Regions from separate parts of the Homo sapiens genome. Here all the other regions are linked to region 4. Evidence: promoter capture Hi-C in human tissues and cell types (Jung and others, 2019). All regions are on one chromosome and are shown on one strand. The core of a region is centred on a gene start or on the middle of the fragment in contact, and the rest is flanking DNA. Distances in the headings are between cores, read along the strand shown.

Evidence for each region. Contacts are between HindIII fragments. The study calls those that stand out against the background at their distance.
Region 1: a contact is called between a fragment that was not itself captured here and the fragment with the promoter of RNF135 in region 4, in 1 of the 25 tissues and cell types used here (bladder).
Region 2: a contact is called between a fragment that was not itself captured here and the fragment with the promoter of RNF135 in region 4, in 2 of the 25 tissues and cell types used here (IMR-90 fibroblasts and lymphoblastoid cells).
Region 3: a contact is called between a fragment that was not itself captured here and the fragment with the promoter of RNF135 in region 4, in 1 of the 25 tissues and cell types used here (mesenchymal stem cells).

Annotation. Positions count from the first base shown.
Region 1 is chr17:31,099,003-31,105,647 of GRCh38, reverse strand. The region is part of intron 1 of NF1 (neurofibromin 1); the gene reads right to left. Among named protein-coding and RNA genes, the nearest start is that of MIR4733HG, 6.8 kb to the right of the region's middle. RefSeq lists a silencer at 1,804-1,985. The HindIII fragment of the contact is 4,792 bases long and covers 1,169-5,960 here.
Region 2 is chr17:31,170,683-31,177,338 of GRCh38, reverse strand. All of the region lies in intron 5 of NF1 (neurofibromin 1), which reads right to left. Among named protein-coding and RNA genes, the nearest start is that of MIR4733HG, 79 kb to the right of the region's middle. The HindIII fragment of the contact is 5,735 bases long and covers 2,361-6,656 here.
Region 3 is chr17:31,192,280-31,199,357 of GRCh38, reverse strand. All of the region lies in intron 8 of NF1 (neurofibromin 1), which reads right to left. Among named protein-coding and RNA genes, the nearest start is that of MIR4733HG, 100 kb to the right of the region's middle. The HindIII fragment of the contact is 9,867 bases long and covers 854-7,078 here.
Region 4 is chr17:30,965,215-30,972,322 of GRCh38, reverse strand. RNF135 (ring finger protein 135) reads right to left here and starts at 1,284. Exons shown (of 5, transcript NM_032322.4): 1 at 878-1,284. The coding sequence starts at 1,249. RefSeq lists enhancers at 469-718, 747-1,308, 1,409-1,658, 1,309-1,870, 1,939-1,998 and 1 more and a silencer at 789-1,328. The HindIII fragment of the contact is 16,210 bases long and covers 1-7,108 here.

The DNA of each region.
Region 1 (6,645 bases), core at 2,315-4,814, 130 kb before region 4:
AGCTACTTGGGAGGCTGAGGCAGGAAAATCGCTTGAGCCTGGGAGGCAGAGGTTGCAGTGAGCCCAGATCACAACATTGCACTCCAGCCTGGGCAACAAGAGCAAAACTCCATCTCAAAAAAAAAAAGTTATCTGAAGTTCAATGGAATAAGACATTCAAAGCTATAAAATATGAATAAGGGCAGGCGACAGCTTGTGGACTGCAGTGGCAACCCTAAGCCAAACCGTGAGTGCCAGACTATGGTTTAAAGAAAATATGCAATCTGGAAGTTTGCACCTCAAGTTACTGCTACTGCAAAGTAATTAGTACCATTTATGGTAAGAATATGTAAAGTTTTAGAACATAATGCCAATTCTTCATTTTAGTAGGATGAACTCCACACTAGCTTGAGGCTTTGTCTCAACAGAAGCTTTTTGATGATATAGTCAGTGGCTCAAAAGCCACTCAGGACCCAGCACAGTAGTTCACGCCTGTAATTCCAGTGCTTTGGGAAGCCAGGTGGGAAGACTGCTTGAGGCCAAGAGTTTGAGACCAGCCTGGGCAACATAACAAGACACTGTCTCTACGAAAAAAATTAAAATAATAGCCAGGTATGGTGGCGCACGCCCATAGTCCTAGATATTCGGGAGGTGGGAGATCACTTGAGCCCAGGAGTTCGAGGCTATGGTGAGCTATGATCACACCACTGCACTCCAGCCTGAGGAACAAAGAGAGACCTCACTTCTAAAATAAATGAATAATAAACAATTTTTAAAAACCAGTTATATGCAGAGAATATAACTATATATCACAGGCATATAACATTTGAAGTGGTCAAATGGATTGCCTTTAAGAGAATTTAGCGAGGGTACTATAAACAGCAGTTATAGTTTATATCCTATAGCATTAAACACCTGAGAGTACTCTGTTTACTGAAGGCTCTACCACATAGTATGATACAGAAATTTACAACTTGCTGAGACCTTAAACTTAATTCACAGTCACTACAACGTAAAACCACTTTTCTGTCCTTCAAGATCAAAACAAATGGTCTCATCTCTCCCTTCCCGCCCCCAAGAAAATGGGGTACTTTAAAAGATGTCAGATGAAACAAGCCAATGCTTTTATAAATACAAGTCAATCCTTTGCAAAGAAACAGATTAAGATGCTCATATTCTGCTTCGGTATTGATCCCAAGCCTTTTAACAGTTTAAGCTGACCACAAATCTCCCCTTCCACTTCTATAGAATATTCTCCTCCTTAAACTTCCTTTAGAGCCTTCCGATACCTCCTGTCCCTTGACTTATATACACACACACCTCCAAAATATACGCAGACCTAAGGAACACAAGTGGAAAACACATTTTTAATTAATACGCTGCTTATCCTTAAAAGTATGTCGTTAGAATGCAACAATATAGAGTCTACATAGAACCCCAGAATACCAAATTTGAAAGCTACAACAAAAATGCCCCATAGCAATCTGAGTAATTTAAAGAACAAAGATGTAAAAAATAAGGCATTCTTACTACTGTATTATATGACTTAAACTTTTGTTTAAGGACAAAATGTTTGGTTGGGTGCAGTGGCCGGTACCCAAATAAAAAACGAAAAACAAAAATACTTTCTCCATATTAAAAAAAAAAATTTTTTTTGAGACAGGGTCTCACCCAGGCCAGAGTGCAGTGGTGCAATCATGCCTCACTGCAGCCTTAATTTCCTGGGCTCAAGCAATCCTGACTCAGCCTCCCAAGTAGCATATACTACCACACTTGGCTAATTTGTCTGTTTTTTTTCTTTTCTTTACTTTCAACCAATGCACACTGGCTGATTTTTTTTTTATTTGTTTTTTTTACTTTTTGTAGAGATGGGGTCTCACTCTGTTGCCCAGGCTGGTCTCAAACTCTGAGGCCCAAGTGATCCTCCCACCTCAGCCCCCCAAAAAGCTTGAATTATAGGCATGAGCCACCGCACCCAGCCAAAACATTTTTTAAAAGCAGACTTAAGGCCAGGTGCAGTGGCTTGCATCTGTAATCCCAGCACTTTGGGAGGCTGAGGCAGGTGTTTGAGGCCAGCCTGGCCAACATGGCAAAACCCCGTCTATAGTAAAAATACAAAAATAGGGCCAGGCACGGTGGTTCAAGCCTGTGATCCCAGCACTTTGGGAGGCTGAAGCGGGCGGATCACCTCAGGTCAGGAGTTCAAGACCAGCCTAGCCAACATGGTAAAACCCTGCCTCTACTAAAAATACAAAAAAATTAGCTGGGTGTGGTGGCACACGCCTGTAATCCCAGCTACTTGGGAGGCTGAGGCAGGAGAATCACTTGAACCCGGGAGGCAGAGGTTGCAGTGAGCCAAAATTGTACCACTACACTCCAGCCTAGGCGAGAAAGCGAGAACTTGTCTCAAAATAATAATAATAATAAAGCAGATTTGAGAAAAGAATCTAATTTCCTAATGGTTAAAAAGTCAAATAAAAAGAGTAGGGCAAAAAACAGGAACATTTAAAATAAAATGTAACAATATTAGACCAGCACCACAGCTTATGCCTATAATCCCAGCACTTTGGGAGGCTGAGGCAGGTGGATTGTTTGAGGTCAGTAGTTTGAGACCAGCTAACATGGCGAACCCTTGTCTCTTTTAAAAATACAAAAATTAGCCAGGTGTGGTAGTACGTGCCTGTAATGCCAGCTACTTGGGAGGCTGAGGCAGGAGAATCGCTTGAACCCAGAAGGTGGAGCTTGCAGTGAGCTGAGATCGTGCCACTGCACTCCAACCTGGGCAATAGAGCGAGACTCTATCTCAAAAAAAAAAAAATGAAGAAGAAGAAAAAAGAGAACTTGTCAATGGATACTAAAGTAAGGTATATATTGGCCAAGGTACATACAAAGGAATATCCAGAGACTAGTCACGCTCTCTTTTTTTTTTTTTGGAAGACAGGGTCTCACTCTGTCACCGAAGCTGGAGTACAGTGGCACAATCATGGCTCACTGTATGCTTGAACTCCTGGGTTCAAGTGATCTTCCTGCCTCAGCCTCCTGAGTAGCTGCGACTACAGGCACATGCCACCACACCCAACTAATTTTTTTTAGAGACAGCATCTCACTATGTTGCACAGCCTGGTCTTGAATTCAAGGCCTCAAGCAGTCCTCCCACATGGGCCTCCCAAAGTGCTGGGATTACAAGCATCAGCTACCGCACCTGGCCTACTCTCCCTTATTTAATGAAAACACAATAATCAGTAATAAGCTACACTGCACTCTAGCCTGAGTGACAGAGCAAGACTCTGTCACACACACAAAAAATAATAATAATAATAAGCTATAAAGAAAACATATAAATCTTATATTAGAAAAATTTTAGACTTTTCAAAGTGCTTCACATTCATATTCTATCACACCATTGCAAAATATCCTAACAGTAAGTGACAAATCCAAAATTACAAAAGTAGTTGATCAGATCTGAAACCTGATTCAAAAAACATGTTTGCTCTATGGGAGGAAATATAAATATGTATAAATTCCTTCTTTATGCTAATTTTCTTACTCATTCCTAGTTAAAATATCACTTATCAGACCTAGGCTATTGCAAACATGGAAGTAAAATTCAGTAAAACAAAGCCAAAAGTACCACTTTTTTTATTTAGCCAGTCTACCCTTCAACCAGGAATCATATGAAAAACATTCCATCAATGTTCTGTGTGTTTAAGACTGTGCTGGGCACTGGGGTGACTAGAAGAGAATTCAAATAGCGTTCTTTGCTTTTCAGAAAGTATGCACTCCATTTGATAAAAAGACAAGAAAAAAAGAAAACAAAGCCAAGCTGTGTTCAAACAATCCTCCTAAAGGAAGAAAACTTACTGTGTGGTTCTGTAAAACTCCAGGTAACAAGGATACCAAGAAGTGAGATAGCAGAGTTTAGTCTGAAACAACCTCATGGGGAAAAAAAAAAAATGAAATCTGAGCTGAACATTGAAGGATGGACAGGAATTAGAAAAGCACAAAGGAGGAATTAAAGCATTCAGGCAGAGACTGGCAGAAATAAAGGCCAAGAAGTGGGAAGAAGCATGATACACACAGAAGAGACTGAGGTGACCTGCCTGGAACATAGGTGCATGCAGAGGCATAATGGGAAAGAGTTTGGTAAATCAAGTGGGGTCAGCTCCCAATAGACTGCTGGGTCACAGAGACATGCTGTTAGAATATTAAAATCATCGAATATTTAAACTTGAAAGAATCTAAAAGATTTTCTAGCCATTTCTTTTTCAACAGATGAGGAAATCAAGGATCTATAGGAAAGCTAATGGCTAGGATAGGGACAAAGGCACTGAATAGCAGAACAAAACTAAGACCCCCGCTAAGGAACTCCAATTCAGTAGAAAAGTATTGTGTCTTGGGAACTGGAAGAGATTGGTTTCCGGGGGGAGTGGAACATCACAGTGGCATTACAACTAAGCAATGACCACTATGTTTTGCCAGAAGTAATCACTTTCAAGAAAACAGCAATCAAGCAGAGGCAGGAGCTACTTTTCAGAGTTATAAAGGAAATGGGTGGATAAACAGTAGAGGCGGTGAGTATCTGGCAACAACAACAACAAAAAAGACTGGTCCACAGAGAGAGAGCTGCAGGACCAAGTAAACGTCTGATTTCCAAGAGAAAGGAAATCTTAGCCTGAAAAGTGAAAAGAAAGCAGCCAACATAAAGACTAAATTAGTTCCCAGACAGATAAGGTGGAAAGTGTAAGGGAGTGCAGAGAACTGAGGAACAGCTGGAAGAAATCTTTCTAAAGGATGAATTCCGGGCCGGGCACGGTGGCTCATGCCTGTAATCCCAGCACTTTGGGAAGTCAAGGCAGGTGGATCACGACATCAAGAAATTCAGACCCATCCTGGCTAGCACGGTGAAACCCTGTCTCTACTAAAAATACAAAATTAGCTGGGCGTGGTGGCATGCGCCTGTAGTCCCAGCTACTTGGGAGGCTGAGGCAGGAGAATCGCTTGAACCCAGGAGGCAGACGTTGCAGTGAGCTGAGATCGCGCCACTGCACTCCAGCCTGGGCGACAGAGTGAGACTCCATCTCAAAATAAATAAATAAATAAAAATTTAAAATAACAATAATAATAAATTAAAAAATTCCGAAGCAAAGAATAAGCATTATTGTGCTCGATTCAGCACCACATATACTAAAATTGGAAGAATAAGCATTATTTCTCACTCACCATAAAGAATTCGTCACCATAAAAGAGTACTCATTTTCAACTACTATAAGGCCTTATAAAAATTACACACCAGGCTTGAAGAATGAGGCTAGGAGATATTTTTTAAATCCAAAAAGCTTCAGTTTTGCAAATCTATTTGTCTAATCAGTATGTGGTTTGTAATTTCGAAGATACTTGCCAATCATTTTATACTGTGAATCACTCACCGCATATTCAACGTACATTCAGATGAACACTCAATGTATGAGAACAACAAATATGCTACTACAACCTCTAAAATCAGAGTTTATTCCATAACATATTCTTTAAATTGGGTTTTTTGGCTTTTATGTACTACTTTTGCTTGATCAGATATGGAAAATATAATTGCTTTAAATGAACATATTTACAACAAATCATTTTGGGATGGAGTTCTTTTTAATTCTTTTTTTTTTTTTTTTAGTTCAAATATCCATAGTTTTCCCATACTTCCCTTCAGAAATAAAGCTCTACAGGAACCAGTGGGGCATACAGAACTAGGGGAGATACACAGAAGGTTCTAATTTGCTTAGAAACTGGGTTAATGAACCACAATTAAAAGCTACACATGGCCGGGCGTGGTGGCTCACGCCTGTAATCCCAGCACTTTGGGAGGCCAAGGCAGGTGGATCACCTGAAGCCAGGAGTTGGAGACCAGCCTGGCCAACACGGTGAAACCCCCGTCTCTACTAAAAATACAAAAATTAGGCAGGCGTGGTGGTGGGCGCCTGTAATCCCAGCTACTTGGGAGGCTGAGGCAGGAGAATGGCTTGAACCCAGGAGGCAGAGGTTGCAGTATGCTGAGATCTCCCCATTGCACTCCAGCCTAGGAGACAAGAGCGAAACTCTGTCTCAAAAAAAAAAAAAAAAAAGCTACACACCTACAATTTGTCAGTTTCAATTAGAAACTTGCTATTTGGCACCACGAAGGCAGGTTAAGGAGAGATGTAAGATTTAACTGATAACATTCAGCTTTCTGGCTGTCCACCTGTGCAACTGTCATTTCCCTAACCAAGGAGGTGATTACTTCTAAAATTGGTAATACTCATTCAACTTAGACCCTAAATACTAGGTTTAGCTGCAATATTATCAGGTTAAGGAATTTTATATTACCCACAAGAATGTGAGCTCAAAATGTCAATATGGCACACATCCACTTCTTTTAACTGAGTCTACTGCACTAAGTTGCTAAGCGATACCCATCAGAGTGCAATATGTCTGTAATCAGCAGTGGCTAGAAATGCATTTCTGCTTTAATCACACCGAATATTAGAAATCCAACCAAAACAGCAATCATAAACAGAGTTGCCATCTTTAGACATGCACATGCTCCCTGGGGGCGTTAAGTGGTCCAACAGGCAAACTCTTAGCTGTAATAAGAAGGAAAGCTTAACTCCCCCTGGGCCCAGTAAAGCAAAGTACAGATAA
Region 2 (6,656 bases), core at 3,979-6,478, 200 kb before region 4:
TAACAGGCAGAACCCTCTGCTGCAGGTCTGCTGGAGTTTGCTGGAGGTCCACTCCAGACCCTGTTTGCCAGAGTATCACCAGCAGAGGCTGCGGAACAACAAAGATTGCTGCGTGTTCCTACCTCTGGAAGCTTTGTCCCAGAGGGGCACCTGCCAGATGCCAGCCAGAGAGGACACAAACAAACGGAAAAACATTCCATGCTCATCGATAGGAAGAATCAATATCGTGAAAATGGCCGTACTGCCCAAAGCAATTTATAGATTCAATGCTATCCCCATCAAACTACCACTGACTTTCTTCACAGAATTAGAAAAAACTACTTTAAATTTCATATGAAACCAGAAAAGAGCCCGCATAACCACGACAATCCTAAGCAAAAAGAACAAAGCTGGAGGAATCACACTACCTGACTTCAAACTATACAAGGCTACAGTAACCAAAACAGCATGGTACTGGTACCAAAACAGATACATAGACCAATGGAACAGAACAGAGGCCTCAGAAATAACACCACACATCTACAACCATCTGATCTTTGACAAACCTGACAAAAACAAGCAATGGGGAAAGGATTCCCTATTTAATAAATGGTACTGGCAAAACTGGCTAGCCATATGCAGAAAACTGAAACTGGACCCTTTCCTTACACCTTATACAATAATTAACTCAAGATAGATTAAAGACTTAAACATAAGACCTAAAACCATAAAAACCCTAGAAAGAAACCTAGGCAATACCATTCAGGACATAGGCATGGGGAAAGACTTCATGACTGAAACACCAAAAGCAATGACAACAAATGCCAAAATTGACAAATGGGATCTAATTAAACTAAAGAGCTTCTGCATAGCAAAAGAAACTACCATCGGAGTGAACAGGCAACCTACAGAATGGGAGAAAATTTTTGCAATCTACCCATCTGACAAAGGGCTAATAACCAGAACCTACAAAGAACTTAAATTTACAAGAAAAACACAAACAACCCCATTAAAAAGTAGATGAAGGATATGAACAGACACTTCTCAAAAGAAGACAACAAACATATAAAGAAAAGCTCATTATCACTGGTCATTACAGAAATGCAAATCAAAACCACAATGAGATACCATCTCACGCCAGTAAGAATGGCGATCATTAAAAAGTCAGGAAAGAAAAGATGCTGGAGAGAATGTGGAGAAATAGGAACACTTTTACACTGTTGGTGGGAGTGTAAATTAGTTCAACCATTGTGGAAGACAGTGTGGCGATTCCTCAAGGATCTAGAACTAGAAATACCATTTGACCCAGCCATCCCATTACTGGGTATATACCCAAAGGATTACAAATCATTCTGCTATAAAGACACATGCACACGTATGTTTACTGCAGCACTGTTCACAACAGCAAAGACTTGGAACCAATCCAAATGCCCATCAATGATAGACTGGATAAAGAAAATGTGGCACATATACACCACAGAATACTATGCTGACATAGAAAAGGATAAGTTCCCGTCCTTTGCAGGGACATGGATGAAGCTGGAAACCATCATTTTCAGCAAACACAAGAACAGAAAACCAAACACCACATGTTCTCACTCATAAGTGGGAGATGAACCATAAGAACACATGTACACAGGGAGAGGACCATCACGCATCGGTGCCTGTCGGGGGGTGGGGGCTGAGGTAAGGGATAGCATTAGGAAAAATACCTAAGGTAGATGATGCGTTGATGGGTGCAGCAAACCACCATGGCACATGGACACCTATGTAACAAACCTGCATGTTCTACACATGTACCCCAGAACTTAAAGTATAATTAAAAAATTTGGAAAACATATACAGGGCCAGGCCCGATGGCTCACGCCTATAATCTCAGCACTTTCGAAAGCAGGAGTGGGAAGATAGCTTGAGCCCAGGATTTCAAGGCTACAGTGTACTATAATCATGTCACTGCATGCCAGCCTGAGCGACAGAGCAAGACTCTGTCCAAAAAAAAAAAAAAAAAAAAAAAGCAAAAGCACAGGTGTTTATGGGAAATTTTTAAAACCATCAATGATTCTATCATTCAGAGACAATCACAGTTAACATCTGGTGGTTTTACTTCTACCACTTTTCCTATGCATGTAGAAAACAAATATATTTAACATAACTGAGATCATATAAGCTGTATCAAACCTGTTCTTTTCCATAGTATCCCTAATTATTTCTGTATCAGTAAAAACTCTTTTTTTTTTTTTTTTTTTTTTTTTGAGATGGAGTCTTGCTCTGTCGCTCAGGCTGGAGTGCAATGGCACAATTTTGGCTCACGCAACCTCCGTCTCCCAGGTTCAAGCGATTCTCCTGCTTCAGCCTCCCCAGTAGCTGGGATTACAGGCGTGCGCCACTACACCCAGCTAATTTTTGTATTTTTAGTAGAGATGGGGTTTCACCATGTTCGTCAGGCTGGTCTCGAACTCCTGACCTCATGATCCGCCCACGTAGGCCTCCCAAAGTGCTGGGATTACAGGTGTGAGCCACTGTGCCTGGCCTATTTTTGATGGCTCTATATGCAATAGTAACTATTACACAAACTATTAAAACATATCATGTATTTTTAGTATGATACACTTAATTCTTTTTGAATCTTAATGTTTTCAGAGTATTACAGATGAACAAACTGTGTGTCTAAGGTTACAGATCTAATAAATGATTGAATTGGGCTTTAAAACCAAGGTCTTTTCAGTATGCTTTGATGCCCCTCATAATATTTAAGTCACTGTATTAAGTGACTGGTTATTTAATGTTTTCCAGTTTTAACACTGAGGTTATTTCTGTTATTTCACTATTATAAATAACATTAACAAATATTTTCATATCAACATCTTTTCCCACATCACTGCTTATTTAAGATAAGGAATCTCTAGAAGTGTCCAGTCAAAGAGATGAATATTTTTAGGGCCCTTGATAAAGATTACCAAGCTGCCTTTCACTAGGGTTGGGCCAAATGCTGCTATCACCAAGCAGCATACGAAAGTGCCTTCATCCTATCTTTGTCATCATAAAAGTATGTTCATTTTCTTTATTTTGCTAATTGGAGTGTTCAAAATAGTAGACTGCATTTTAACGCAAGTAACAGTAAACATTTCTCCATATAAATATATTGGGTATTTTAATTTCTTCTTCTTTAAGTTTATTGTCCACATCTAGAAAAAGATTTATGTTTGGAAAAAATGACCTGTCTATAAGCGATTTTACTGGCAATGGTCCCTCGGCAAAGAACTTCTCCTGTTGACTTTTAATGAAGGGATAAAGGTTTTTATTACATCTATGTAAGTGTCTAAGAGAGAGATGAGTCTTTTTTCTGGACTTGCAAATAAGTAACTCTCCAAATCAGTTTTTAAAAGTACCCCTTTGAATTCTCTTTGCTCTCACCCTCCACTGATTTCCAAATAATGACATTACTCTTCACAGTGCTCTTTAGCAACAACTTTACCTTTATGACATCTTAAATGTGTTATATACCATAATCTACTCTCAAAGCCAAAGTATCTTTCAGTTCTACAAGTTTCTTGTTGGACATCCTACTGATACCTCAAACTCAGAAGATCTAAAACTGAATTTATCATTTTCCTGGTCAAACCCTCTCTTCTGCCATCAACCTTTCCTTCCCTTTTCTGCTCTAACCAGCTTATTCTGTAATATTTGGTGATATCTCTCTAACCTCATATATCTAAATTGACTATCAAATGCTATGTATTCCATTTCTTTTTTTTTTTTTTTAGATGGAGTTTCGGTCTTGTTGTCCAAGCTGGAGTGCAATGGCGTGATCTCGGCTCACTACAACCTCCATCTCCCAGGCTCAAGCGATTCTGCTGTGCCTCGGCCACCCGAGTAGCTGGGATTATGGGCACGTGCCACCACACCCGGCTAATTTTTTGTATTTTTATTTTATTTTATTTATTTATTTAGAGACGGAGTATCACTCTGTTGCCCAGGCTGGAGTGCAGTGGCACAATCTCGGCTCACTGCAAGCTCTGCCTCCCGGGTTCATGCCATTCTCCTGCCTCAGCCTCCCAAGAAGCTGGGACTACAGGCGCCCACCACTACGACTGGCTAATTTTTTGTATTTCTAGTAGAGACAGTGTTTCACCGTGTTAGCCAGGATGGTCTCCTGACCTCGTGATCCACCTGCCTCAGCCTCCCAAAGTGCTGGGATTACAGGCGTGAGCCACCGCGCCCAGCCCATTTTTTGTATTTTTAATGGAGACGGAGTTTCCCCATGTTGGCCAGGCTGGTCTCGAACTCCTAACCTCAGTGATCCGCCCACCTTAGCCTAACAAAGTGCTGGGATTACAGGTGTGAGCCACTGCGCCCAGCCTCCACTTCTTTAAATACCTATCAAACTGGTCCCCATCCTTACCCTACCCCAATCCATCATCTGGATCTCCACAACTCTCATTATTTTTCACTTATATTACTGCATAACCAAGTCCCAGAAGTTCAGGTAACCCTCTACCAAGCCATCCTGCAAATTTCAAGCAAAGGGGTATATCTAAAATAAAATACTGATTAAGGTATTCTCTACCTCAAAGCCTTTCTATCACTTCCCAGGGCCACTAAAATAAAGCTTCGTAACTCATAAGCACAACAGTGCAGCAGTCAAGTATCTAGGTTCTAGAGACGAGCAGATGTGAACTCAATCTTTACTGAACAATTACTAGCTCTGTGACTTTGAAAATTTACTGAGGCCTCAGTTTCCTCATCTACACAAGAGATGATAATATTAATACTAGTATTGCGTCACAGGGTTATTGTAAGAATTGATGAGAAAAGGCATGCAAACTGCATAGCGCAAGGCCCGGTGCAGACTGAAAATATAACAAATGTTTCTCTCTCTCTCTCGATATATCTATCAAGATACAGATATATCTATAGACAGATCTGGATATACACATATCGATTGATATATCTATATACAGATAGGTATATCGAGAGAAAGAGAGAAAGAGAGAGAGAGAGAGAGAGACAGAGAGACAGAGAGACAGACAGAGACAGGATCTCACTCTGTTACCCAGGCTGGAATGCAGTGGCACAATCACAGCTTACTGCAACCTCAACCTCTTCCTGGGCTCAAGTGATCCTCCCACCTCAGCCTCCCAAGTAGCTGGGACTACAGGTGCGTGTCAGCACACCCAGCTAATTTTTTTTTGTATATATGGGGGTCTCTCTATGTTGCCCTGGCTCAAGCAATCCTCCTGCCTCGGCTTCCCCAAAGTGTGGGGATTACATGTGTGAGCCACCAGGCCTGGCCATATTTTTATTAAAATGATCTGACCTATTCTTGTACCTTCACATCTTGCTCATCTCTCATCCCCTCAAACAAATATATACTTCCTCTCTCACTTTACACTCACCCTATTTGAGTTTATCATAGTTTTTTTCTGCAAATAACTTGATAATGACATCACTTGTCTCATAAACCATGCCATGAGCTCCTTAGGGACAGATTCCATATTTTATTAATTTTTGTAATCCCAGCACTTAGCATGGCTTCTTATACATAGTTTCTCAACAAAGGCTTGTTGAGTTGTATTTAAAACACATTACTACCTTTACTACTCATTACTGAAAGGGTGCATTCCTTTTACCACTGTCACCAAGAGCCATATTTTGCTGGCCTATTTAATATCGGTTTTATACTTTATATATTTATCAGCATATACTCTAAATTTATGTTCATGAGGGAGCCGCATTCGATGGGAAAGTTACTTCAGTATAAAAGAAAGTCATTTATCCACACATTCAATTAGTTTCTCTTATTTGGACAGAAGAGACATTTCAGTTAATTATTACGGATTGAACATTTCTATTGTTTTAAACAGCTATTCACAGGCAACCTGGACTAGACTTGTTTCCAAAACATCACTGAATAGTTATGAAAAATCATAAAATCCCACTAATACTTCTTAACTTTAATTCATAGAGATCTCTAAATTTTACCATTCAGTTTCTCAACTGCTCAACGCTTAATAATAGATATCAAAATCTTGCAAATCTCAACTATTAATTCAATGGTGGTTTATTATAATCTAAAATAATTGCTGTCCACATGTTTGTATCTTGGCATAACAGCTAAAATCACCCCTATATTTTCCTTTATTAAAGTTACTGAATTAATTGTTGCTTGGTTTCACAATGGTAATGACCTAAAATCATAAATTATGAACAAGGGTAATATGAATAGAACACAGCTTTATATTATTCCTTTATATAGGTATTGCCTTTTTACATCTCTGGTGAGATAGTTATTGAGTTTAAAGGAAATATTAAGAAAACAAAAACACGTATTTTGAAAACTACATTGCAGAACTGATGTTTCTGAAGCTAATATAATTCAATCTGTTTTAGGTCAGATATTAAAAATATTATTGTTTGACAATTCCTTAAGTTACAAATAAAAATATGTGTGAACTGTATACGGTTTCATATCTAAATTAGCCAGGGTCTAATAATGCCAAAAACTAAAAAACATTTTTTTGTAAAATGAAATTTAGATATTCATACTCAGTTTATGAATATTCATTGATATCTGATTTACATGAATACATCACTGCTTACCACAGAATTTATCTCAATTCCTTCAGATCATACTCAGTTTATGAATACTCATTGGTATCTGATTTACATTAACACAT
Region 3 (7,078 bases), core at 4,538-7,037, 220 kb before region 4:
TTTGTGAATGTTAACTAATAGATCAAAGGAAAAAATCACAAAGGAAATTAGAAACCAACGTGAGATAAATGAAAACGAAAACACAACATACTAAAACTTATAGGATGCAGTGAATGCAGAGCTAAAAGAAAAATGTAAACCTGTAAACACTGACATCAAAAAATAAGAAAGTTCTCATTCAATAACCTAACCATATACCTCAAGGAACTAGAAAAAGAGTAAACTACACCAAAGCTAGCAGAAGAAAGAAAATAATAAAAATTAGAGTGAAAAGAGAGAACAGAAAAACAATGGAGAAAAATTACAAAACCAGAAGCTGATTCTTTGAAAAAGTCAACAAAACTCTAGCTAGATAGGTTAACAAAAAAATAAATAAATAAAAGAGAGACAGAGAGAAAGAACACCAAATTACTAAAGTCAGATATGAAAGTGGTGACACGGCCAGATGCAGTGGCTCATGCCTGTAATCCCAGCACTTTGGGAAGCCAAAGCAGGCGAATCACTTGAGGTCAGGAGTTTAAGACCAGCCTGATCAACATGGTAAAACCCCCATCTCTACTGTAAAGAAGACAAAAATTACACAGGCATGGTGGTGCATGCCTGTAGTCCCAGCTACTAGGGAAGCTGAAGCAGGAGAATCACTTGAACCCAGGAGGCAGAGGTTGCAGTGAGCCAAGATCTTGTCACTGCACTCCAGCCTGTGCGAAAGAGCAAGACTCTATCCCCCCCACCCCCTCAACAACAACAAAAAAAGTGGTGACACTACTGATTTTGCAAAAATAAAAAGAATTATGAGACGATACTATGTAAAACTGTATGCCAACAATTTGGATAACCTGGACAAAATGGACAAATTTCTACAAACACACAGTCTACCGAAACTAACTCATGAGGAAATAGAAAATCTAAATAGAACTATAACTAGTAAAGGGATTAATCAGTAATCACAAAGCTCCCAAAGAAAAGGCTAGGACCAGATAGCTTTCACTGGTTGATTCCACCCAACATTTAAAGAATGCTTCTCAAACACTTCCAGAATATTAAAGAGAAGGGAACACTTCTCTTCATTAGTTCTATGGTCCAACATTACCGATACCAAAGCCAGACAAAAATACTACAGGAAAACTACAGACTAATACACCCTAGGAATACTGATGAAAAACTCAACAAAATCAGCAGCCTATTAAAAGGATGACACACCATGACCAAGTGAAACTTACTCCAGGAGCACAAGATGATTCAACAATGAAAAAATCAATGTAATATACCACATTAATAGAATGAAGAAGAAACTCCACATGATCATCTGAATCAATACAGAGAAACCACTTGACAAAGTTCAACACCTGTTATGATAAAAAAACACTCAAGCTAGGAATAGAAGGAAATTTCCTCAACATCGTAAAAGCCATGTATTAAAAACCAATAGCTAACAACATACTCAATAGTGAAAGATTGAACGTTTTTCCCCTAAGATCAGGAACAGGATGAGGATGCCCACTTTTTCTTCTTCTATTTGGCATAATACTAGAAATTCCGGACAGAGCAAGTAGGCAAGAAAAAGATGGAAAATTCATTGAATTTGGACAGAAAGAAGCAAAACTATGTCTATTCACAGATGATATATATGTAGAAATCCCTAAAGATGACACATACACACCAAAAACAAGCTGTTAGAGCTAATAAATTCAAAGTCACAGAATACAAAATCAGCACACAAAAATCAGCTGGATTTCTATACATTAGCAATGAAAAATACAAAAAGGAAATTAAGAAAACAATTCCACTTACGATAGCATCCAAAATAAAATACATAGGAATTAATCAGGGAGGTGAAAAACTTAATAAAAAACTACAAAACATTGCTGAAAGAAATTAAACATAAATAAATGGAAAGATATCTCACGTTCCTAGATTGTTAAGGTAACAATATTACCCAAAGCAATATACAGATTCAATGCAATCCCTATCAAAATCCCAATGGTATTTTTTGCAAAAAAAAAAAAAAAAAAAGCCAGGCGCGGTGGCTCACGCCTGTAATCCCAGCACTTTGGGAGGTCGAGGCGGGCAGATCACGAGGTCAGGAGATGGAGACCATCCTGGCTAACATGGTGAAACCCCGTTTCTACTAAAAATACAAAAAAAATTAGCTGGGCATGGTGGCGGGTCCCTGTAGTCCCAGATACTTGGGAGGCTGAGGCAGTAGAATGGCGTGACCCTGGGAGGCGGAGCTTGTAGTGAGCCGAGATCGCGCCACTGTACTCCAGCCTGGGCAACAGAGCGAGACTCCATCTCAAAAAAAAAAAGGAAAAACCCATCCTAAAATTCATATGGAATCTCAAAGAGCCGCATAATAGTCAAAACTATCTTGAAAAAGAATAAAGTTGGAGAACTCACACTTTCTTATTTGAAAACTTACTACAAAGCTACAGTAATCAAAACAATGTGGTACTAGCATAAGCACAGTCATACAGACCAATGGAATAGAGAGCCTAGAAAGAAACCCTCACACATATGACCAATTTTTGACAAAGATGCTAAGACCATTCAATAGAGAAAGGATGGTCTTTTCAACAAATGATGCTAGGAAAACTGATTATCCACATGCAAAAGAATGAAGATGGACCCTTTTCTTACATCATATACAAAAATTAACTCAAAATAGATCAAAGACCAAAACTTAACAGTAAAGCTATAAAACTCCTATAAGAAAATATAGGAAAAAAAAATATTTTCAACATTGGATTTGGCAAAGATTTCTTGTATATGATACCAAAAAAGCACAGGCAACAAAAGAAAAAACAGATAAACTGGATTTCATCAAAATAAAAACTTTTGTGTATCAAACGACACTATCAAGAAGATGAAACAACAATCCACAGAGTGGGAGAAAATACTTGCAAATAATGTATCTCATAAGGGGTGAATAACCAGAATATATTAAAAATTCCTATAACTAAAAAATAAAATAAAATTTAGAGCCTTACAAATACTTTACAGTTTTTTTAAAAACTGAAAATAGATGAACCAAGCCATTGCCTCAAGAAATAACAGTATAAATAAAATGAAAGCTAAAATTAATGAAACAGAAAAATTTAAATGCTAGGAAACAAAATCAAAGCCTAGGTTTTAAAGACCAATAAAATAGTAAACGTGAATGAGGAAAGAGAAATGAGTAAACAGTTACAAACATGGATACTAAAGATAATTATATGAGAATATGGAAATATAATATAACCTTTATATAATTGTACAAAATATGTAAGTATTATATACAACTCTGCACTGATAAAACTGAAATATATATTTTCTAGCAAAGAACAAACCATCAAAAGTGACTTTAAAAACAACAGAAATTCTTCAAAAAATCAAAAATAAAATAACCATATGATCCAGAAATTACACTTCTGGATATATATTCAGAAGAATTAAAAGCAGGGTCTTGAAGTTATTTGTACACCCATGTTCACAGTAGCATTATTTATAATAGCCAAAAGGTGGAAACAACTGAAAAATCCATTGGCAGATGAATTTAGATAAATAAAATGTTGGTATATATATACAATGGAATATATCACTCAGCCTTAAAGAGGAAGGAAATCCTGACATGCTACAACATGGATGAATACTATTTCAGCCATAAAAAAAAAAGAATGAAATCCTGTCTTTCAAGGCAACATGAATGGAACTGGAGGACATTATGCTAAGTAAAATAAGCCCATGTCAAAAAGACAAATACTGTATGAGTCCACTTATATGAGGTAGTCAAATTCAGAGAGACAGAAAGTAAAAGGACGGTTGCCAGGAGTTGAGGGTAGGGAAGAACGGAGAGCTGTTTAATAGATACAGAATTTGTTTTGGAAGATGAACAGGTTTTGGAGATTGATTGCACAACGATGTGAAAGATAGTGCTACTAAACTGTATGCTTAAAAATGGCTAAGATGGTAAATTTGATGTTACGTGCATTTTACCGCATACAAAATTTTAAAGAGACAGAAAAACTACACAGATCCATAAGGGAGCTCAAATAAAAGGTGATTAATGAGTTATTTTAAATAGACAATAAACAGGCTAGTTCTAGAAAGAGCATAAGAAACCAGTAGCAGTACTTGACTTAGGAAAAAAAGTATAAACTGAAGGTCAAGAGTGAATAGGAAGCTTACTTTTCCACTGAATTCCCTTCCTGATGTACAGTGAAAATTTCCATTATGTCAATTTATTTTTTTTCTTTAAAACTAATGATAAGCAAAAGTCAAAGGAAATCCTAACCTTGATGATTTTACAATGATTTCTATCTAATCAGATAATTTCTATTATTTAAATTATTCCGGGCCATAGAAAAGACTGATAGTTCCCAAATTCACATTACTAATTTGGCACAAATAACTGTTCGAATAATTAGTTACTTTCAAAAGTGATAATGCATATTATGTTAATTATACATATTTTCTAAGCATCAGAAAGCTGAAGCACTGGAAGGAAATGTTTTATTAAGCAGCTACCCAATACATTTGCCAATAGCCAACCAAGTTTACCTCACACACACAAATGAACATACTAAAAGTAAAGATTTCCAAATATATTTCAGCTCCAAATTTAAAGTGAACATTTAAATAACATAGAAACTATCTGACTGGATACAATTCAGCTCTAAAACTAGAGTTCAGGGCCCTTTATCTTTTGTTAATTATTAATTTTAAATTTTTTGATGTATTAATATTTATGAAGAACATAGTAACATTTTCATAGCTATACAGAGATCAAATCAAGGTAATTAGCATACCCATCATCTCTTATCATTTCTTTGTGCTGGGAACATTCAACATCCTCCTCCTAGCTCTTTGAAACTTTGTAACATATTGTTAATTACAGCCATCTTACAGTGGTATACAACACTAGAACTTACTCTTCCTATCTAGTTGTAATTTTGAATCCTTTAACAAATCGTTCCCTACCCTCCCCGCACCCTATCCTTCCCAGCCTGTAGTATTCTGTTCTACTTTTTACTTCTGAGATCAACTTTTTTTTAGCTTCCACATATGAATGAGAACACTCAGTGTTTAATGTTCTGTCCCTGGCTTATTTCACTTAATATAATGTCCTCCAATTCAATCCACGTGCCTCAAAATACAGAATTTCATTCTTTTTTATGGCTGAATACTATTCCATTGTGTATATATACCATATTTTCTTTACGCATTCATCTGTTGTTAGATACTTAGGATGATTCCATATCTTGGCTATTGTGAATAGTGCTGCAATAAACATGGGAGTACAGATGTCTCTTCAATATACTGATTTCCCTTCCTTTGGATAAACGTCCAGTAATGAATTGTTGGATCACATGGTAGTTCTATTTGCAGTTTTTTGAGGAACCTTCACACTGTTCTCCATAGTGGCTGTACTAGTTTACATTCCCACTAGCCACATTTAAGAGTTCACTTATCTCCACACCTTTGCCAGCATTTGCTATTTTTTGTCTTTTTGATAGTAGCCATTCTAACCGGGGTGAGATGATATCTCACTGTGGTTTTGATTTGCATTTCCCTGATGACTAGTGATGTTGAGCTTTTTTAAAAAATATATCTGTTGGTCATGTGTCTGTCTTCTTTTAAGAAATGTCTATTCAGGTCCTTTGCCCATTTTTAAATTTTTTGTTGTTGTTTTGTTTTGTTTTGTTTTGTTTTTTGCTGTTGAGATATCAGAGTTCCTTGTATATTCTGGATATTAATCCTCTGCTGGATACATACTTTGCAAATATTTTCTCCCATCCTGTAGGTTGTCTTTTCACTCTGCCAATTGTTTCCTTTGCAATAACGTTAATTTTTTAAAGAAAAGTAACTTAAATGCTTGACAATATGGAATTTAAAATATGGTACATTCAAGCTGGGTGCGGTGGTGCATGCTTATAGTTGCAGCTATCTGAAGGCTGAGGTGGAAGAAGATCGCATAAGCCCAGAAGTTTGAGACCAGCCTGGGCAACATAATAGCAAGACTTAGTCTCTTTTTTAAAAAATGGTATATTCAATTTAGGGAACACCATACAGCAGTTAAAGACAATGACCTAGATGAACAATGGTTCTCAAACTTCAATGTGCATCACAATCACCTGAAGGACTTAATAAAAATGGCTGTTTTTAGTGAGAAACTAAGTATTTAGTTAGAAACTAAGAACTGGCATTTCTCACAAATTTCCAGGTGACGCTGATGCTGCTGGTCTAAAGACCACACTTTGAGAAACACTGAACTATATACCTATCTGTCTATCTCCCCATCCTCATAAAAATATAAAAGCTAGACTGGAAGAATATACATTTAACCCTTTGCAGTGGCTGTCCCTGGGAAAGAAAAAAAAGAAATTAGTGGGATTCGTAATTAAATCAGAATTTATGGAAGTATTACTTATTCACAATTTTTAAAAGCCATGTGAGGACTTAGCTCTGATTTTTTAACTTGCCCAAACTCCTACCTAAGGGGTCTAGGAAGTCATGCCCTACAAACCATAAATTCTCATCAGATGGGTTTTATTTGACGCTATATATCGTGACTTACTTTTCAATCTGACTCTGGCATAACATTATGAGACAAGGAAAAAATATTTAGCCCCAAAATATATTTCCTTGCCATACCTTGAAATTTGCCGTGCAAAGTCTCCTGTGGGGAAAAAACATCCACATTCTATAGAGAATCCCCTTTTCCCTTTGTTTTCCTTCTTTCCTTTCCAGATCCAGGAGATTAATCGACTAAGAGCCAGGCACTCTTTTAGGTCTAATAAGAAACATTTTACAACCTTCTCTCTCTCTGAAGTCTGCTGAGAGATTCCTCTGCACAACAAAATCTGGTCTCCACAATCCTTTATCTTAACCTGGACATTCCTTTCCATTAATCCCAAGTCTTCAGACAAACTCAACCGTCAACCAGACAACGTCTAAATTTACTTATGGCCTGGAAGCCCCCACTTTGAGTTGTCGCGCCTTTCTAAACCAAACCAATGTATTTCTTAAATGTATCTGATTGATGTTTCATGCCTTCCTAAAATATATCAAACCAAGCTGTACCCCAACCACTTTGGGCACA
Region 4 (7,108 bases), core at 35-2,534:
GCTAACAACGGTGAAACCCCGTCCCTATTTTTTAAAAAAAGAAAAAAACATACAAAAAATTAGCCAGGCGTGGTGGCGGGCGCCTGTAGTCCCAGTTACTCGGGAGGCTGAGGCAGGAGAATGGCGTGAACCCGGGAGGCGGAGCTTGCAGTGAGACAAGATGGCGCCACTGCACTCCAGCCTGGGCCACAAAGCAAAACTCCGTCTCAAAAAAATAAAAGGTTAAAATGAGGCCAGGCGCTGTGGCTCATGACTGTAATCCCAGCACTTTGGGAGGCCGAGGCGGACGGATCATCTGTGGTCAAGAGTTTGAGACTAGCCTGGCTAACATGTCGAAACCCCGTCTCTACTAAAAATACCAAAATTAGCCGGGCGTGATGGCGCACGCCTGTAATCCCAGCTACTCTCGAGCCTGAAGCAAGAGAATCACTCGACCCTGGGGGGCGGAGGTTGCAGTGAGCCGAGATCACGCACGCCATTGCACTCCATCCAGCCTGGGCGACAGAGCGAGACTCCGTCTCAAAGAAATAAAGAAAAAGGTTAAAATGGCCAGTTTTAATGTTATATAGATCTTACCACAATTTTACAAGTTTCAGAGAAAGAGACCGAAGATCGATTGGGAAGAAGTTGAAATATGCCAAGCTGTGTAACAGCTAAGTTGACAAGCTTTCGGAAGATGGGGAATTTGTTTTTTTCTACTTCTTCATACTTTTATGAACTTTCCAAAGTGCCTCCGAAGAGCGGAACTCGACTTTTAGACTGAGAAAAGGAACGTAAAAGTAGAACGGCTGAGGAAAGGGGTTCGAGCCACATGGGAAAGGGTCAGGCGGCGGGCAGCCCGGGGGAGCCAGGGGAGCTGCGGGCCCGGCCTCCCTACCCGCTGCAGTTCCGGGCGGCGCCGGGGCCTCGCGGCCGCGCTGGAGAGGGAACTGGAGCCCGGGCAGGGGCAGTGGGCAGGGTCGGAGCCCGCCTGTATCTCGCGTGCGGCGCGGCGGTACTTGTCGGCCAGGTCCTGCAGTAGCGTGTTCTTCCGCAGGTGCGGCTGCTGCGCGGCGCCCTGGCGGCAAGTGGGGCAGGCCCAGCGGCGGGCGTCGCGGGCGCCCCACAGGGCCTCCAGGCAGTGGCGGCAGAAGCTGTGGCCGCAGGGCAGCGTGGCGGGCCAGTCCAGCAGCCCCTGGCAGATGATGCAGCCGAGGTCGTCCTCGGCCAGCCACACGGGAACGGCGGAGCCCAGGCCCAGGCCCGCCATGGCCAACAGGCGGCCGGGGCGCGGACGTCGGGGTTGAGCCGGGCGAGTCTCCTCAGGCTCCTCCCTCGCCCTTCCTCTTCCCCTTGCCCTCCTCCTTTTCTCGGCCGCCTTTTCTCCTCCTTCCTTGGCGCCACCCCGTCTCCTTCCTCCGATCCTGCTGAAAACAGACTTAGAGCCTCCAGTGCCCAGCTGGAAAGACAGAGCTGACCTTCAGTGGCGGCCTCTTGCCCTGGGAAACCAACATGCCGCGAGCTGCTAGAAACCCGCGGAGGTCTCCAAGATTCCCTTTAGCTGGATGTCCCTCCATTAAGATGCAGCACCGTTGGATGTCTTCGTCCGTTGGCTTAAAAAAAAATAAACAACAAAAAAGATGCAACACCGACAACTCTTGGGAGGAGAGGACTCCATTCAGCAGCTTATTTATGAGAATGAGCCCACGAAGTGTCATCCAGCTCCTCTAACAAGTAGCAGGGGATTAAAGATCACCGATGCACAGCCACAGGGAGCGTCCTCAAAAATGCTGATGTTCGGCCCCGCTCGCAGGGAGTCTGATTTCATTGTCTTGGGTGGAGCACGGGTATTTTGTAAAACCTCCCCCAGGTGATTCTGACGCGCATTCAAGGTTGAGTGAGCGAACCCTTGGCTTTTTAACTCGCAGGTATAATGCAGAGTTGTGCGCTGTGTCCTTACCGCCTTCTGCGGGATGTAAGCGCGTTTCCCAACAGACACTCGGACAAAATTCTAGAAAGTGTTTTCCTGAGAAGGCTCACTCACTCACTCACTTCGCATCCCAGTCCTAAACGCATTGCAACCAGAAAATGTTAGAGCTAAAAGAGCACCACGTCCTCCCAGATGACCCAAAGAGGTTAAAAAAAAAAAAAAGAGAAAAAAGAAAAACTTGCAGGCTCTCATGGTAACAATGAAGCGTCAGAGACTAAAACCCACAACTCCCCAATCTGTTGAAATGAACTAACAACGTCTCATGCTTTACTTTATCCTTTCTGGCCTGGGCTCAAAGTAGGTATCAGATAATACAAGTTTGTAGCCGACCTTTGGATCACTTGAAGTCAGGAGTTCAAGACCAGCCTGGCCAACATGGTGAACCCTCATCTCTACTGAAAATACAAAAAGAAAAGAAAAGAAAAGCCAGGCGCCCTGGCGCATGCCTGTAATCCCAGCTACTTGGGAGGCTGAGGCAGGAGAATCTCTTGAACCCGGGAGGCGGAGGTTTCAGTGAGCCAAGACTGCGCCACTGCACTCCAGCCTGGGCGACATAGGGAGACTCCGTCTCAAAAAAAAAAAAAAAAAAAAAAAGAAAAAAAAGAAAGAAAAGAAAGAAAAAAAAGCGTTTGTGGTTATTTCTAATACTGGAAGTGTCATGGAGTAGGCAGCGCTGCTCATCAACGTTTCCAGTGCTTTCCCTTTCTGGGCACATGGTAGGACTGGCACTTCCCTGACCCACTTGAAACACACAGAGGTAATATGTTACTTCCCACCAGCTTTAAAGGCGACTGAGCCGGCCATTGTATCCCTTTCTGCCAGCTGCCCCAATTATGGAGATGAAACCATCATCCGGTGACCTGGGTCACTGAGTGGCTAAGATGAGCAGACTCCCTGCCAACGCACCCTAGGATACGTAGTAAGAGGGAGAAGAAAACTAGGATGTATTCAGCTTACTGAGATTTAGTGGGTGTGTGCTGCTACAGCATAACCTAGCCTATCCTGACTGATGTATTACCTGGATCTTGTTCTAGAATCTCCGCATCGGAGTAAAATCGTAGTTTCTAAGAGCCTCTTTTTTTCTGTAAAACGGGCATGATACTAAACACTTAAACATGCTCAGATCTTCCAACTTAAAAAATGAAATCACTGGCGGGGCGTGGTGGCTTATGCCTGTAATCTCAGCACTTTGGGAGGCTGAGGCAGGTGGATTGCCTGAACTCAGGAGTTCGAGACCTGCCTGAGCAACATGGTGAAACCTTGCCTCTACAAAAAAAATACAAAAACTACCTAGACATGGTAGCGCAGGCCTGTGATCCCAGCTACTCAGGAGACTGAGGTGGGAGGATTGCTTGAGCCAGGGAGGTGGAGGCTGTAATGAGCCATGAGATCTCAGGAGGTCAAGACTGTGGTTAGCTGTGATCACACCACTTCACTCCAGCCTGGGGAAGGAGCTAGACCTAGTCTCAAAAAAATTAAAAATTAAAAAATAAAATAAAATCACCTTTGACCTGAGCCTCCCTGGAACCAGCTCTCCTCTTCTCCATTTCACAGCCAAGTTTCTGGAAAGAGTGAGTTAACCAGTAGTTTTCAAACTTTTTTCTTGGACACGCCCTAAAAGTTTTATGCAAAATCATGCAGTGGTTATAAGAAAGGGGGAAGTGGGGGCCGGGCGCAGTGGCTCACGCCTGTAATCCCAGCACTTTGGGAGGCTGAGGCGGGCGGATCATGAGGTCAGGAGATTGAGACCATTCTGGCTAACACGGTGAAACCCCGTCTCTACTAAAAAATACAAAAAAAATTAGCCGGGCGTGACGGCGGGAGCCTGTAGTCCCAGCTACTCAGGAGGCTGAGGGAGGAGAATGACCTGAACCCAGGAGGCGGAGCTTGCAGTGAGCTGAGTTCGCACCACTGCACTCCAGCCTGGGCGACAGAGCAAGACTCTGTCTCAAAAGAAAAAAAAAAAAGAAAGAAAGAAAGGGGGAAGGGGGAGAGTGGTCAGCTCTGGTAGTAAAAATATATTAGCAAATTCTTCATTTATATCAGATTTTTTTTTTTTTTGAGATGGAGTCTCACTTTGTTGCCCAGGCTGGAGTGGAGTGGAGTGGCACAATCTCGTCTCACTGCAACCTCCACCTCCCGGGTTCAAACCATTCTCCTGCCTCAGCCTCCGGAGTAGCTGAGATTACAGGCGCTCGCCACCATGCCCGGCTAATTTTGTATTTTTAGTAGAGATGGGGTTTCCCCATGTTGACAGGGTTTCTCCATGTTGGCCAGGCTTGTCTCGAACTCCTGACCTCAGGTGATCCGCCCACCTCATCCTCCCAAGTGCTAGGATTACAGAGGTGAGCCACCGCGCTCAGCCTACATCAGACATTTTGTCATTCTTGGCCGAGTGCGGTGGCTCATGCCTGTAATCCCAGGACTTTGGGAGGCCGAGGCAGGCGGATCATGAGGTCAGGAGTTCGAAAAATACAAAAAAAAATTAGCTGGGCGTAGTTGCAGGCACCTGTAATCCCAGCTACTCAGGAGGCTGAGGCAAGAGAATCATTTGAACCCGGGAGGTGAAGGTTGCCATGAGCCAAGATGGCACCATTGCACTCCAGCCTCGGCAACAGGGCAAGACTCCGTCTCAAAAAAAAAAAAAAAGAAATTTTGTCATTCTTTTATCTTTCTGAACTTGTATTTCCATTCCATTTCCTCCACAGAATTACATTCCAAAGCAATATATTTCATGCATGAAAGTCTTTTATCACTTTGTAATACTTCTCTACAACAAAAGTATGTATGTGTATTAAATTTTTAATTCTTCTTAACTTCCTGTGACAAAAAGGCTCTTGGTAAATTTTTTCCCCTGGATTTAATTATCAATATAATTACTATTAGCAGTCAAACAAAAGAAAAGTATGCTGCAATTTATAACTTTTATATAAATAAAATAACTTTTAAAGACAGTAAACATTTTATTGGAATGATAGCTATTAATAAGACAGATGGGCTCATTTCTTTCAAAAATGCATTTATGCCCAGGCACGGTGGCTCACATCTGTAATCCCAGCACTTTGAGAGGCCAAGGTGAGCGGAACACTTGAGGTCAGGAGTTTGAAACCAGCCTGGCCAACCTGGTGAAACCCTGCCTCTACCAAAAAATACAAAAATTAGCTGGGCATGGTGGCCTGAGGTCCCAGCTACTCCAGAGGCCGAGGCAGGAGAATTGCTTGAACTTAGGAGACGGAGGTTGTAGTGAGCTGAAATGGCACCACTGCACTCCAGTCTGGGCAACAGAGCAAGACTCTGTCAAAAAAAGAAGCATTTATCTATGAATGAACATTACTTAATGATAGACAAACTTTTGCAATAAATTCTATTTCTTTTATGTTTTTATGTGTGCCGAGAAATCTTGTTCACATGTATAAATAGATGACAAAATTGTCACTCATTTTGTTGAATACTTTTTGAGATATATGCAAAAAAGTCATATAGTGATAATCTCTCAATTAACAACTTGATTTGATTTTTCTTTAATTTTTGTTGAAAGCAAGAATTTGAGGTCGGGCGCGGTGGCTCACACCTGTAATCCCAGCACTTTGGGAGGCCGAGGCGTGTGGATCACGAGGTCAAGAGATCAAGACCATCCTGGCAAACACGGTGAAACCGCGTCTCTACTAAAAATACAAAAAAAAAAAAAAAATTAGCCAGGCACGGTGGCGGGCGCCTGTAGTCTCAGCTACTCGGGAGGCTGAGGCAGGAGAATGGTGTGAACCCTGGGAGGCAGAGCCTGCAGTGAGCCAAGATCGCGCCACTGCACTCCAGCCTGGGCGACAGCGAGACTCCATCTCAAAAACAAAAAAAAGAATTTGAAACACTTGTGTTACAAAAGTCGTTAGAAGTATTCACTTTAAAAATAAATAAATAAATACATAAAAATAAATAAAAAAATAAAATAAAATAAAAAAATAATAAAATAAAACTTAAAAATTAAATAAATAAATAAATAAAATAAAAATAAATTAAAAAAGATCAAATAAAAAAAGAAGTATTCACTTTCTCATTTTCTGGGTGTTATTGTAACGTGGCTGACTCCATCTTGCTGCTAGCCTCACAGGCTGGCTGTCTTCGCTCATTCCTGGGGTAGGCCAAGCTAACCGTGGAAGGAATTTAGTTTATAGTTTAAATTAGAAGCCAGGATGATAATAGTCCCTCCCTAAAACTAATCCTTTCCTTATTCAGGGGGCTGAAACCACCTTTGTAAAACCATTGAAAGGCCACAAAATTAAGTTTATGGGAGGGGCCTGAATTCTGCTGAGATGTTGACACAATTTCTATAATCCCTTACCTTCAGGAGTTATGTAGCCAGAAGTCACAAGATTTGTGGCTTCTTCAATTGCTCCTATAGATAACATCACTATTGTAGAATCTAAGATTGGTGGAGATGTTTTCCAGACTTACGCCACCAGGACTGGTGACTTGTGACTCAGTTGGCCATGTGGCCTCAACCAGAGGTGGACTCAGTTCATGAGGACGATTTTCCACACCCGTAATGACTGCATCCCCAACCAATCAGCAGCATCCATCCCCTAGTCCCCTGCCCACCAAACTGAAAAACCATAACCTCCAGCCTTTGGGGAGACTGATTTGACTGATAATTCCACTTCTCCCACATGGCCAACCTCACCTTAATGTTAATTAAACTCTTTCTTTACTGTTTTGCCTGTGCAGTGGGCAGGAAGAACCCGTTGGGTGATTACAGTATGCCAAAAAGACTTTGCCAAGGTTTAGCAAATGACTATCAATTAAAAGCAATTACACTTTAACTTAGAGACAGCTTGTTTACTGATATACTCAGAAAGGACTGGGAAAATTAGAATATTGTTTATTTTAATACACCATTGTCAATCTAATATTTTTTGGAAAGGTGCTTTTATGTTATGTATTTGAAATATATATACACACATACATATATGTATACATATATATATACATTTTTGGGTTTTTTTGTTTGTTTGTTTTGTTTTTTGAGACAGGGTCTTTGTTGCCCAGGCTGGAATGCAGTGGTGTGATCTCTGCTCACTGCAGCCTGGAGCTCCCAGGCTCAAGCCATCGCTTCAGTCCCACAAATAGCTGGGACTACAAGCACAT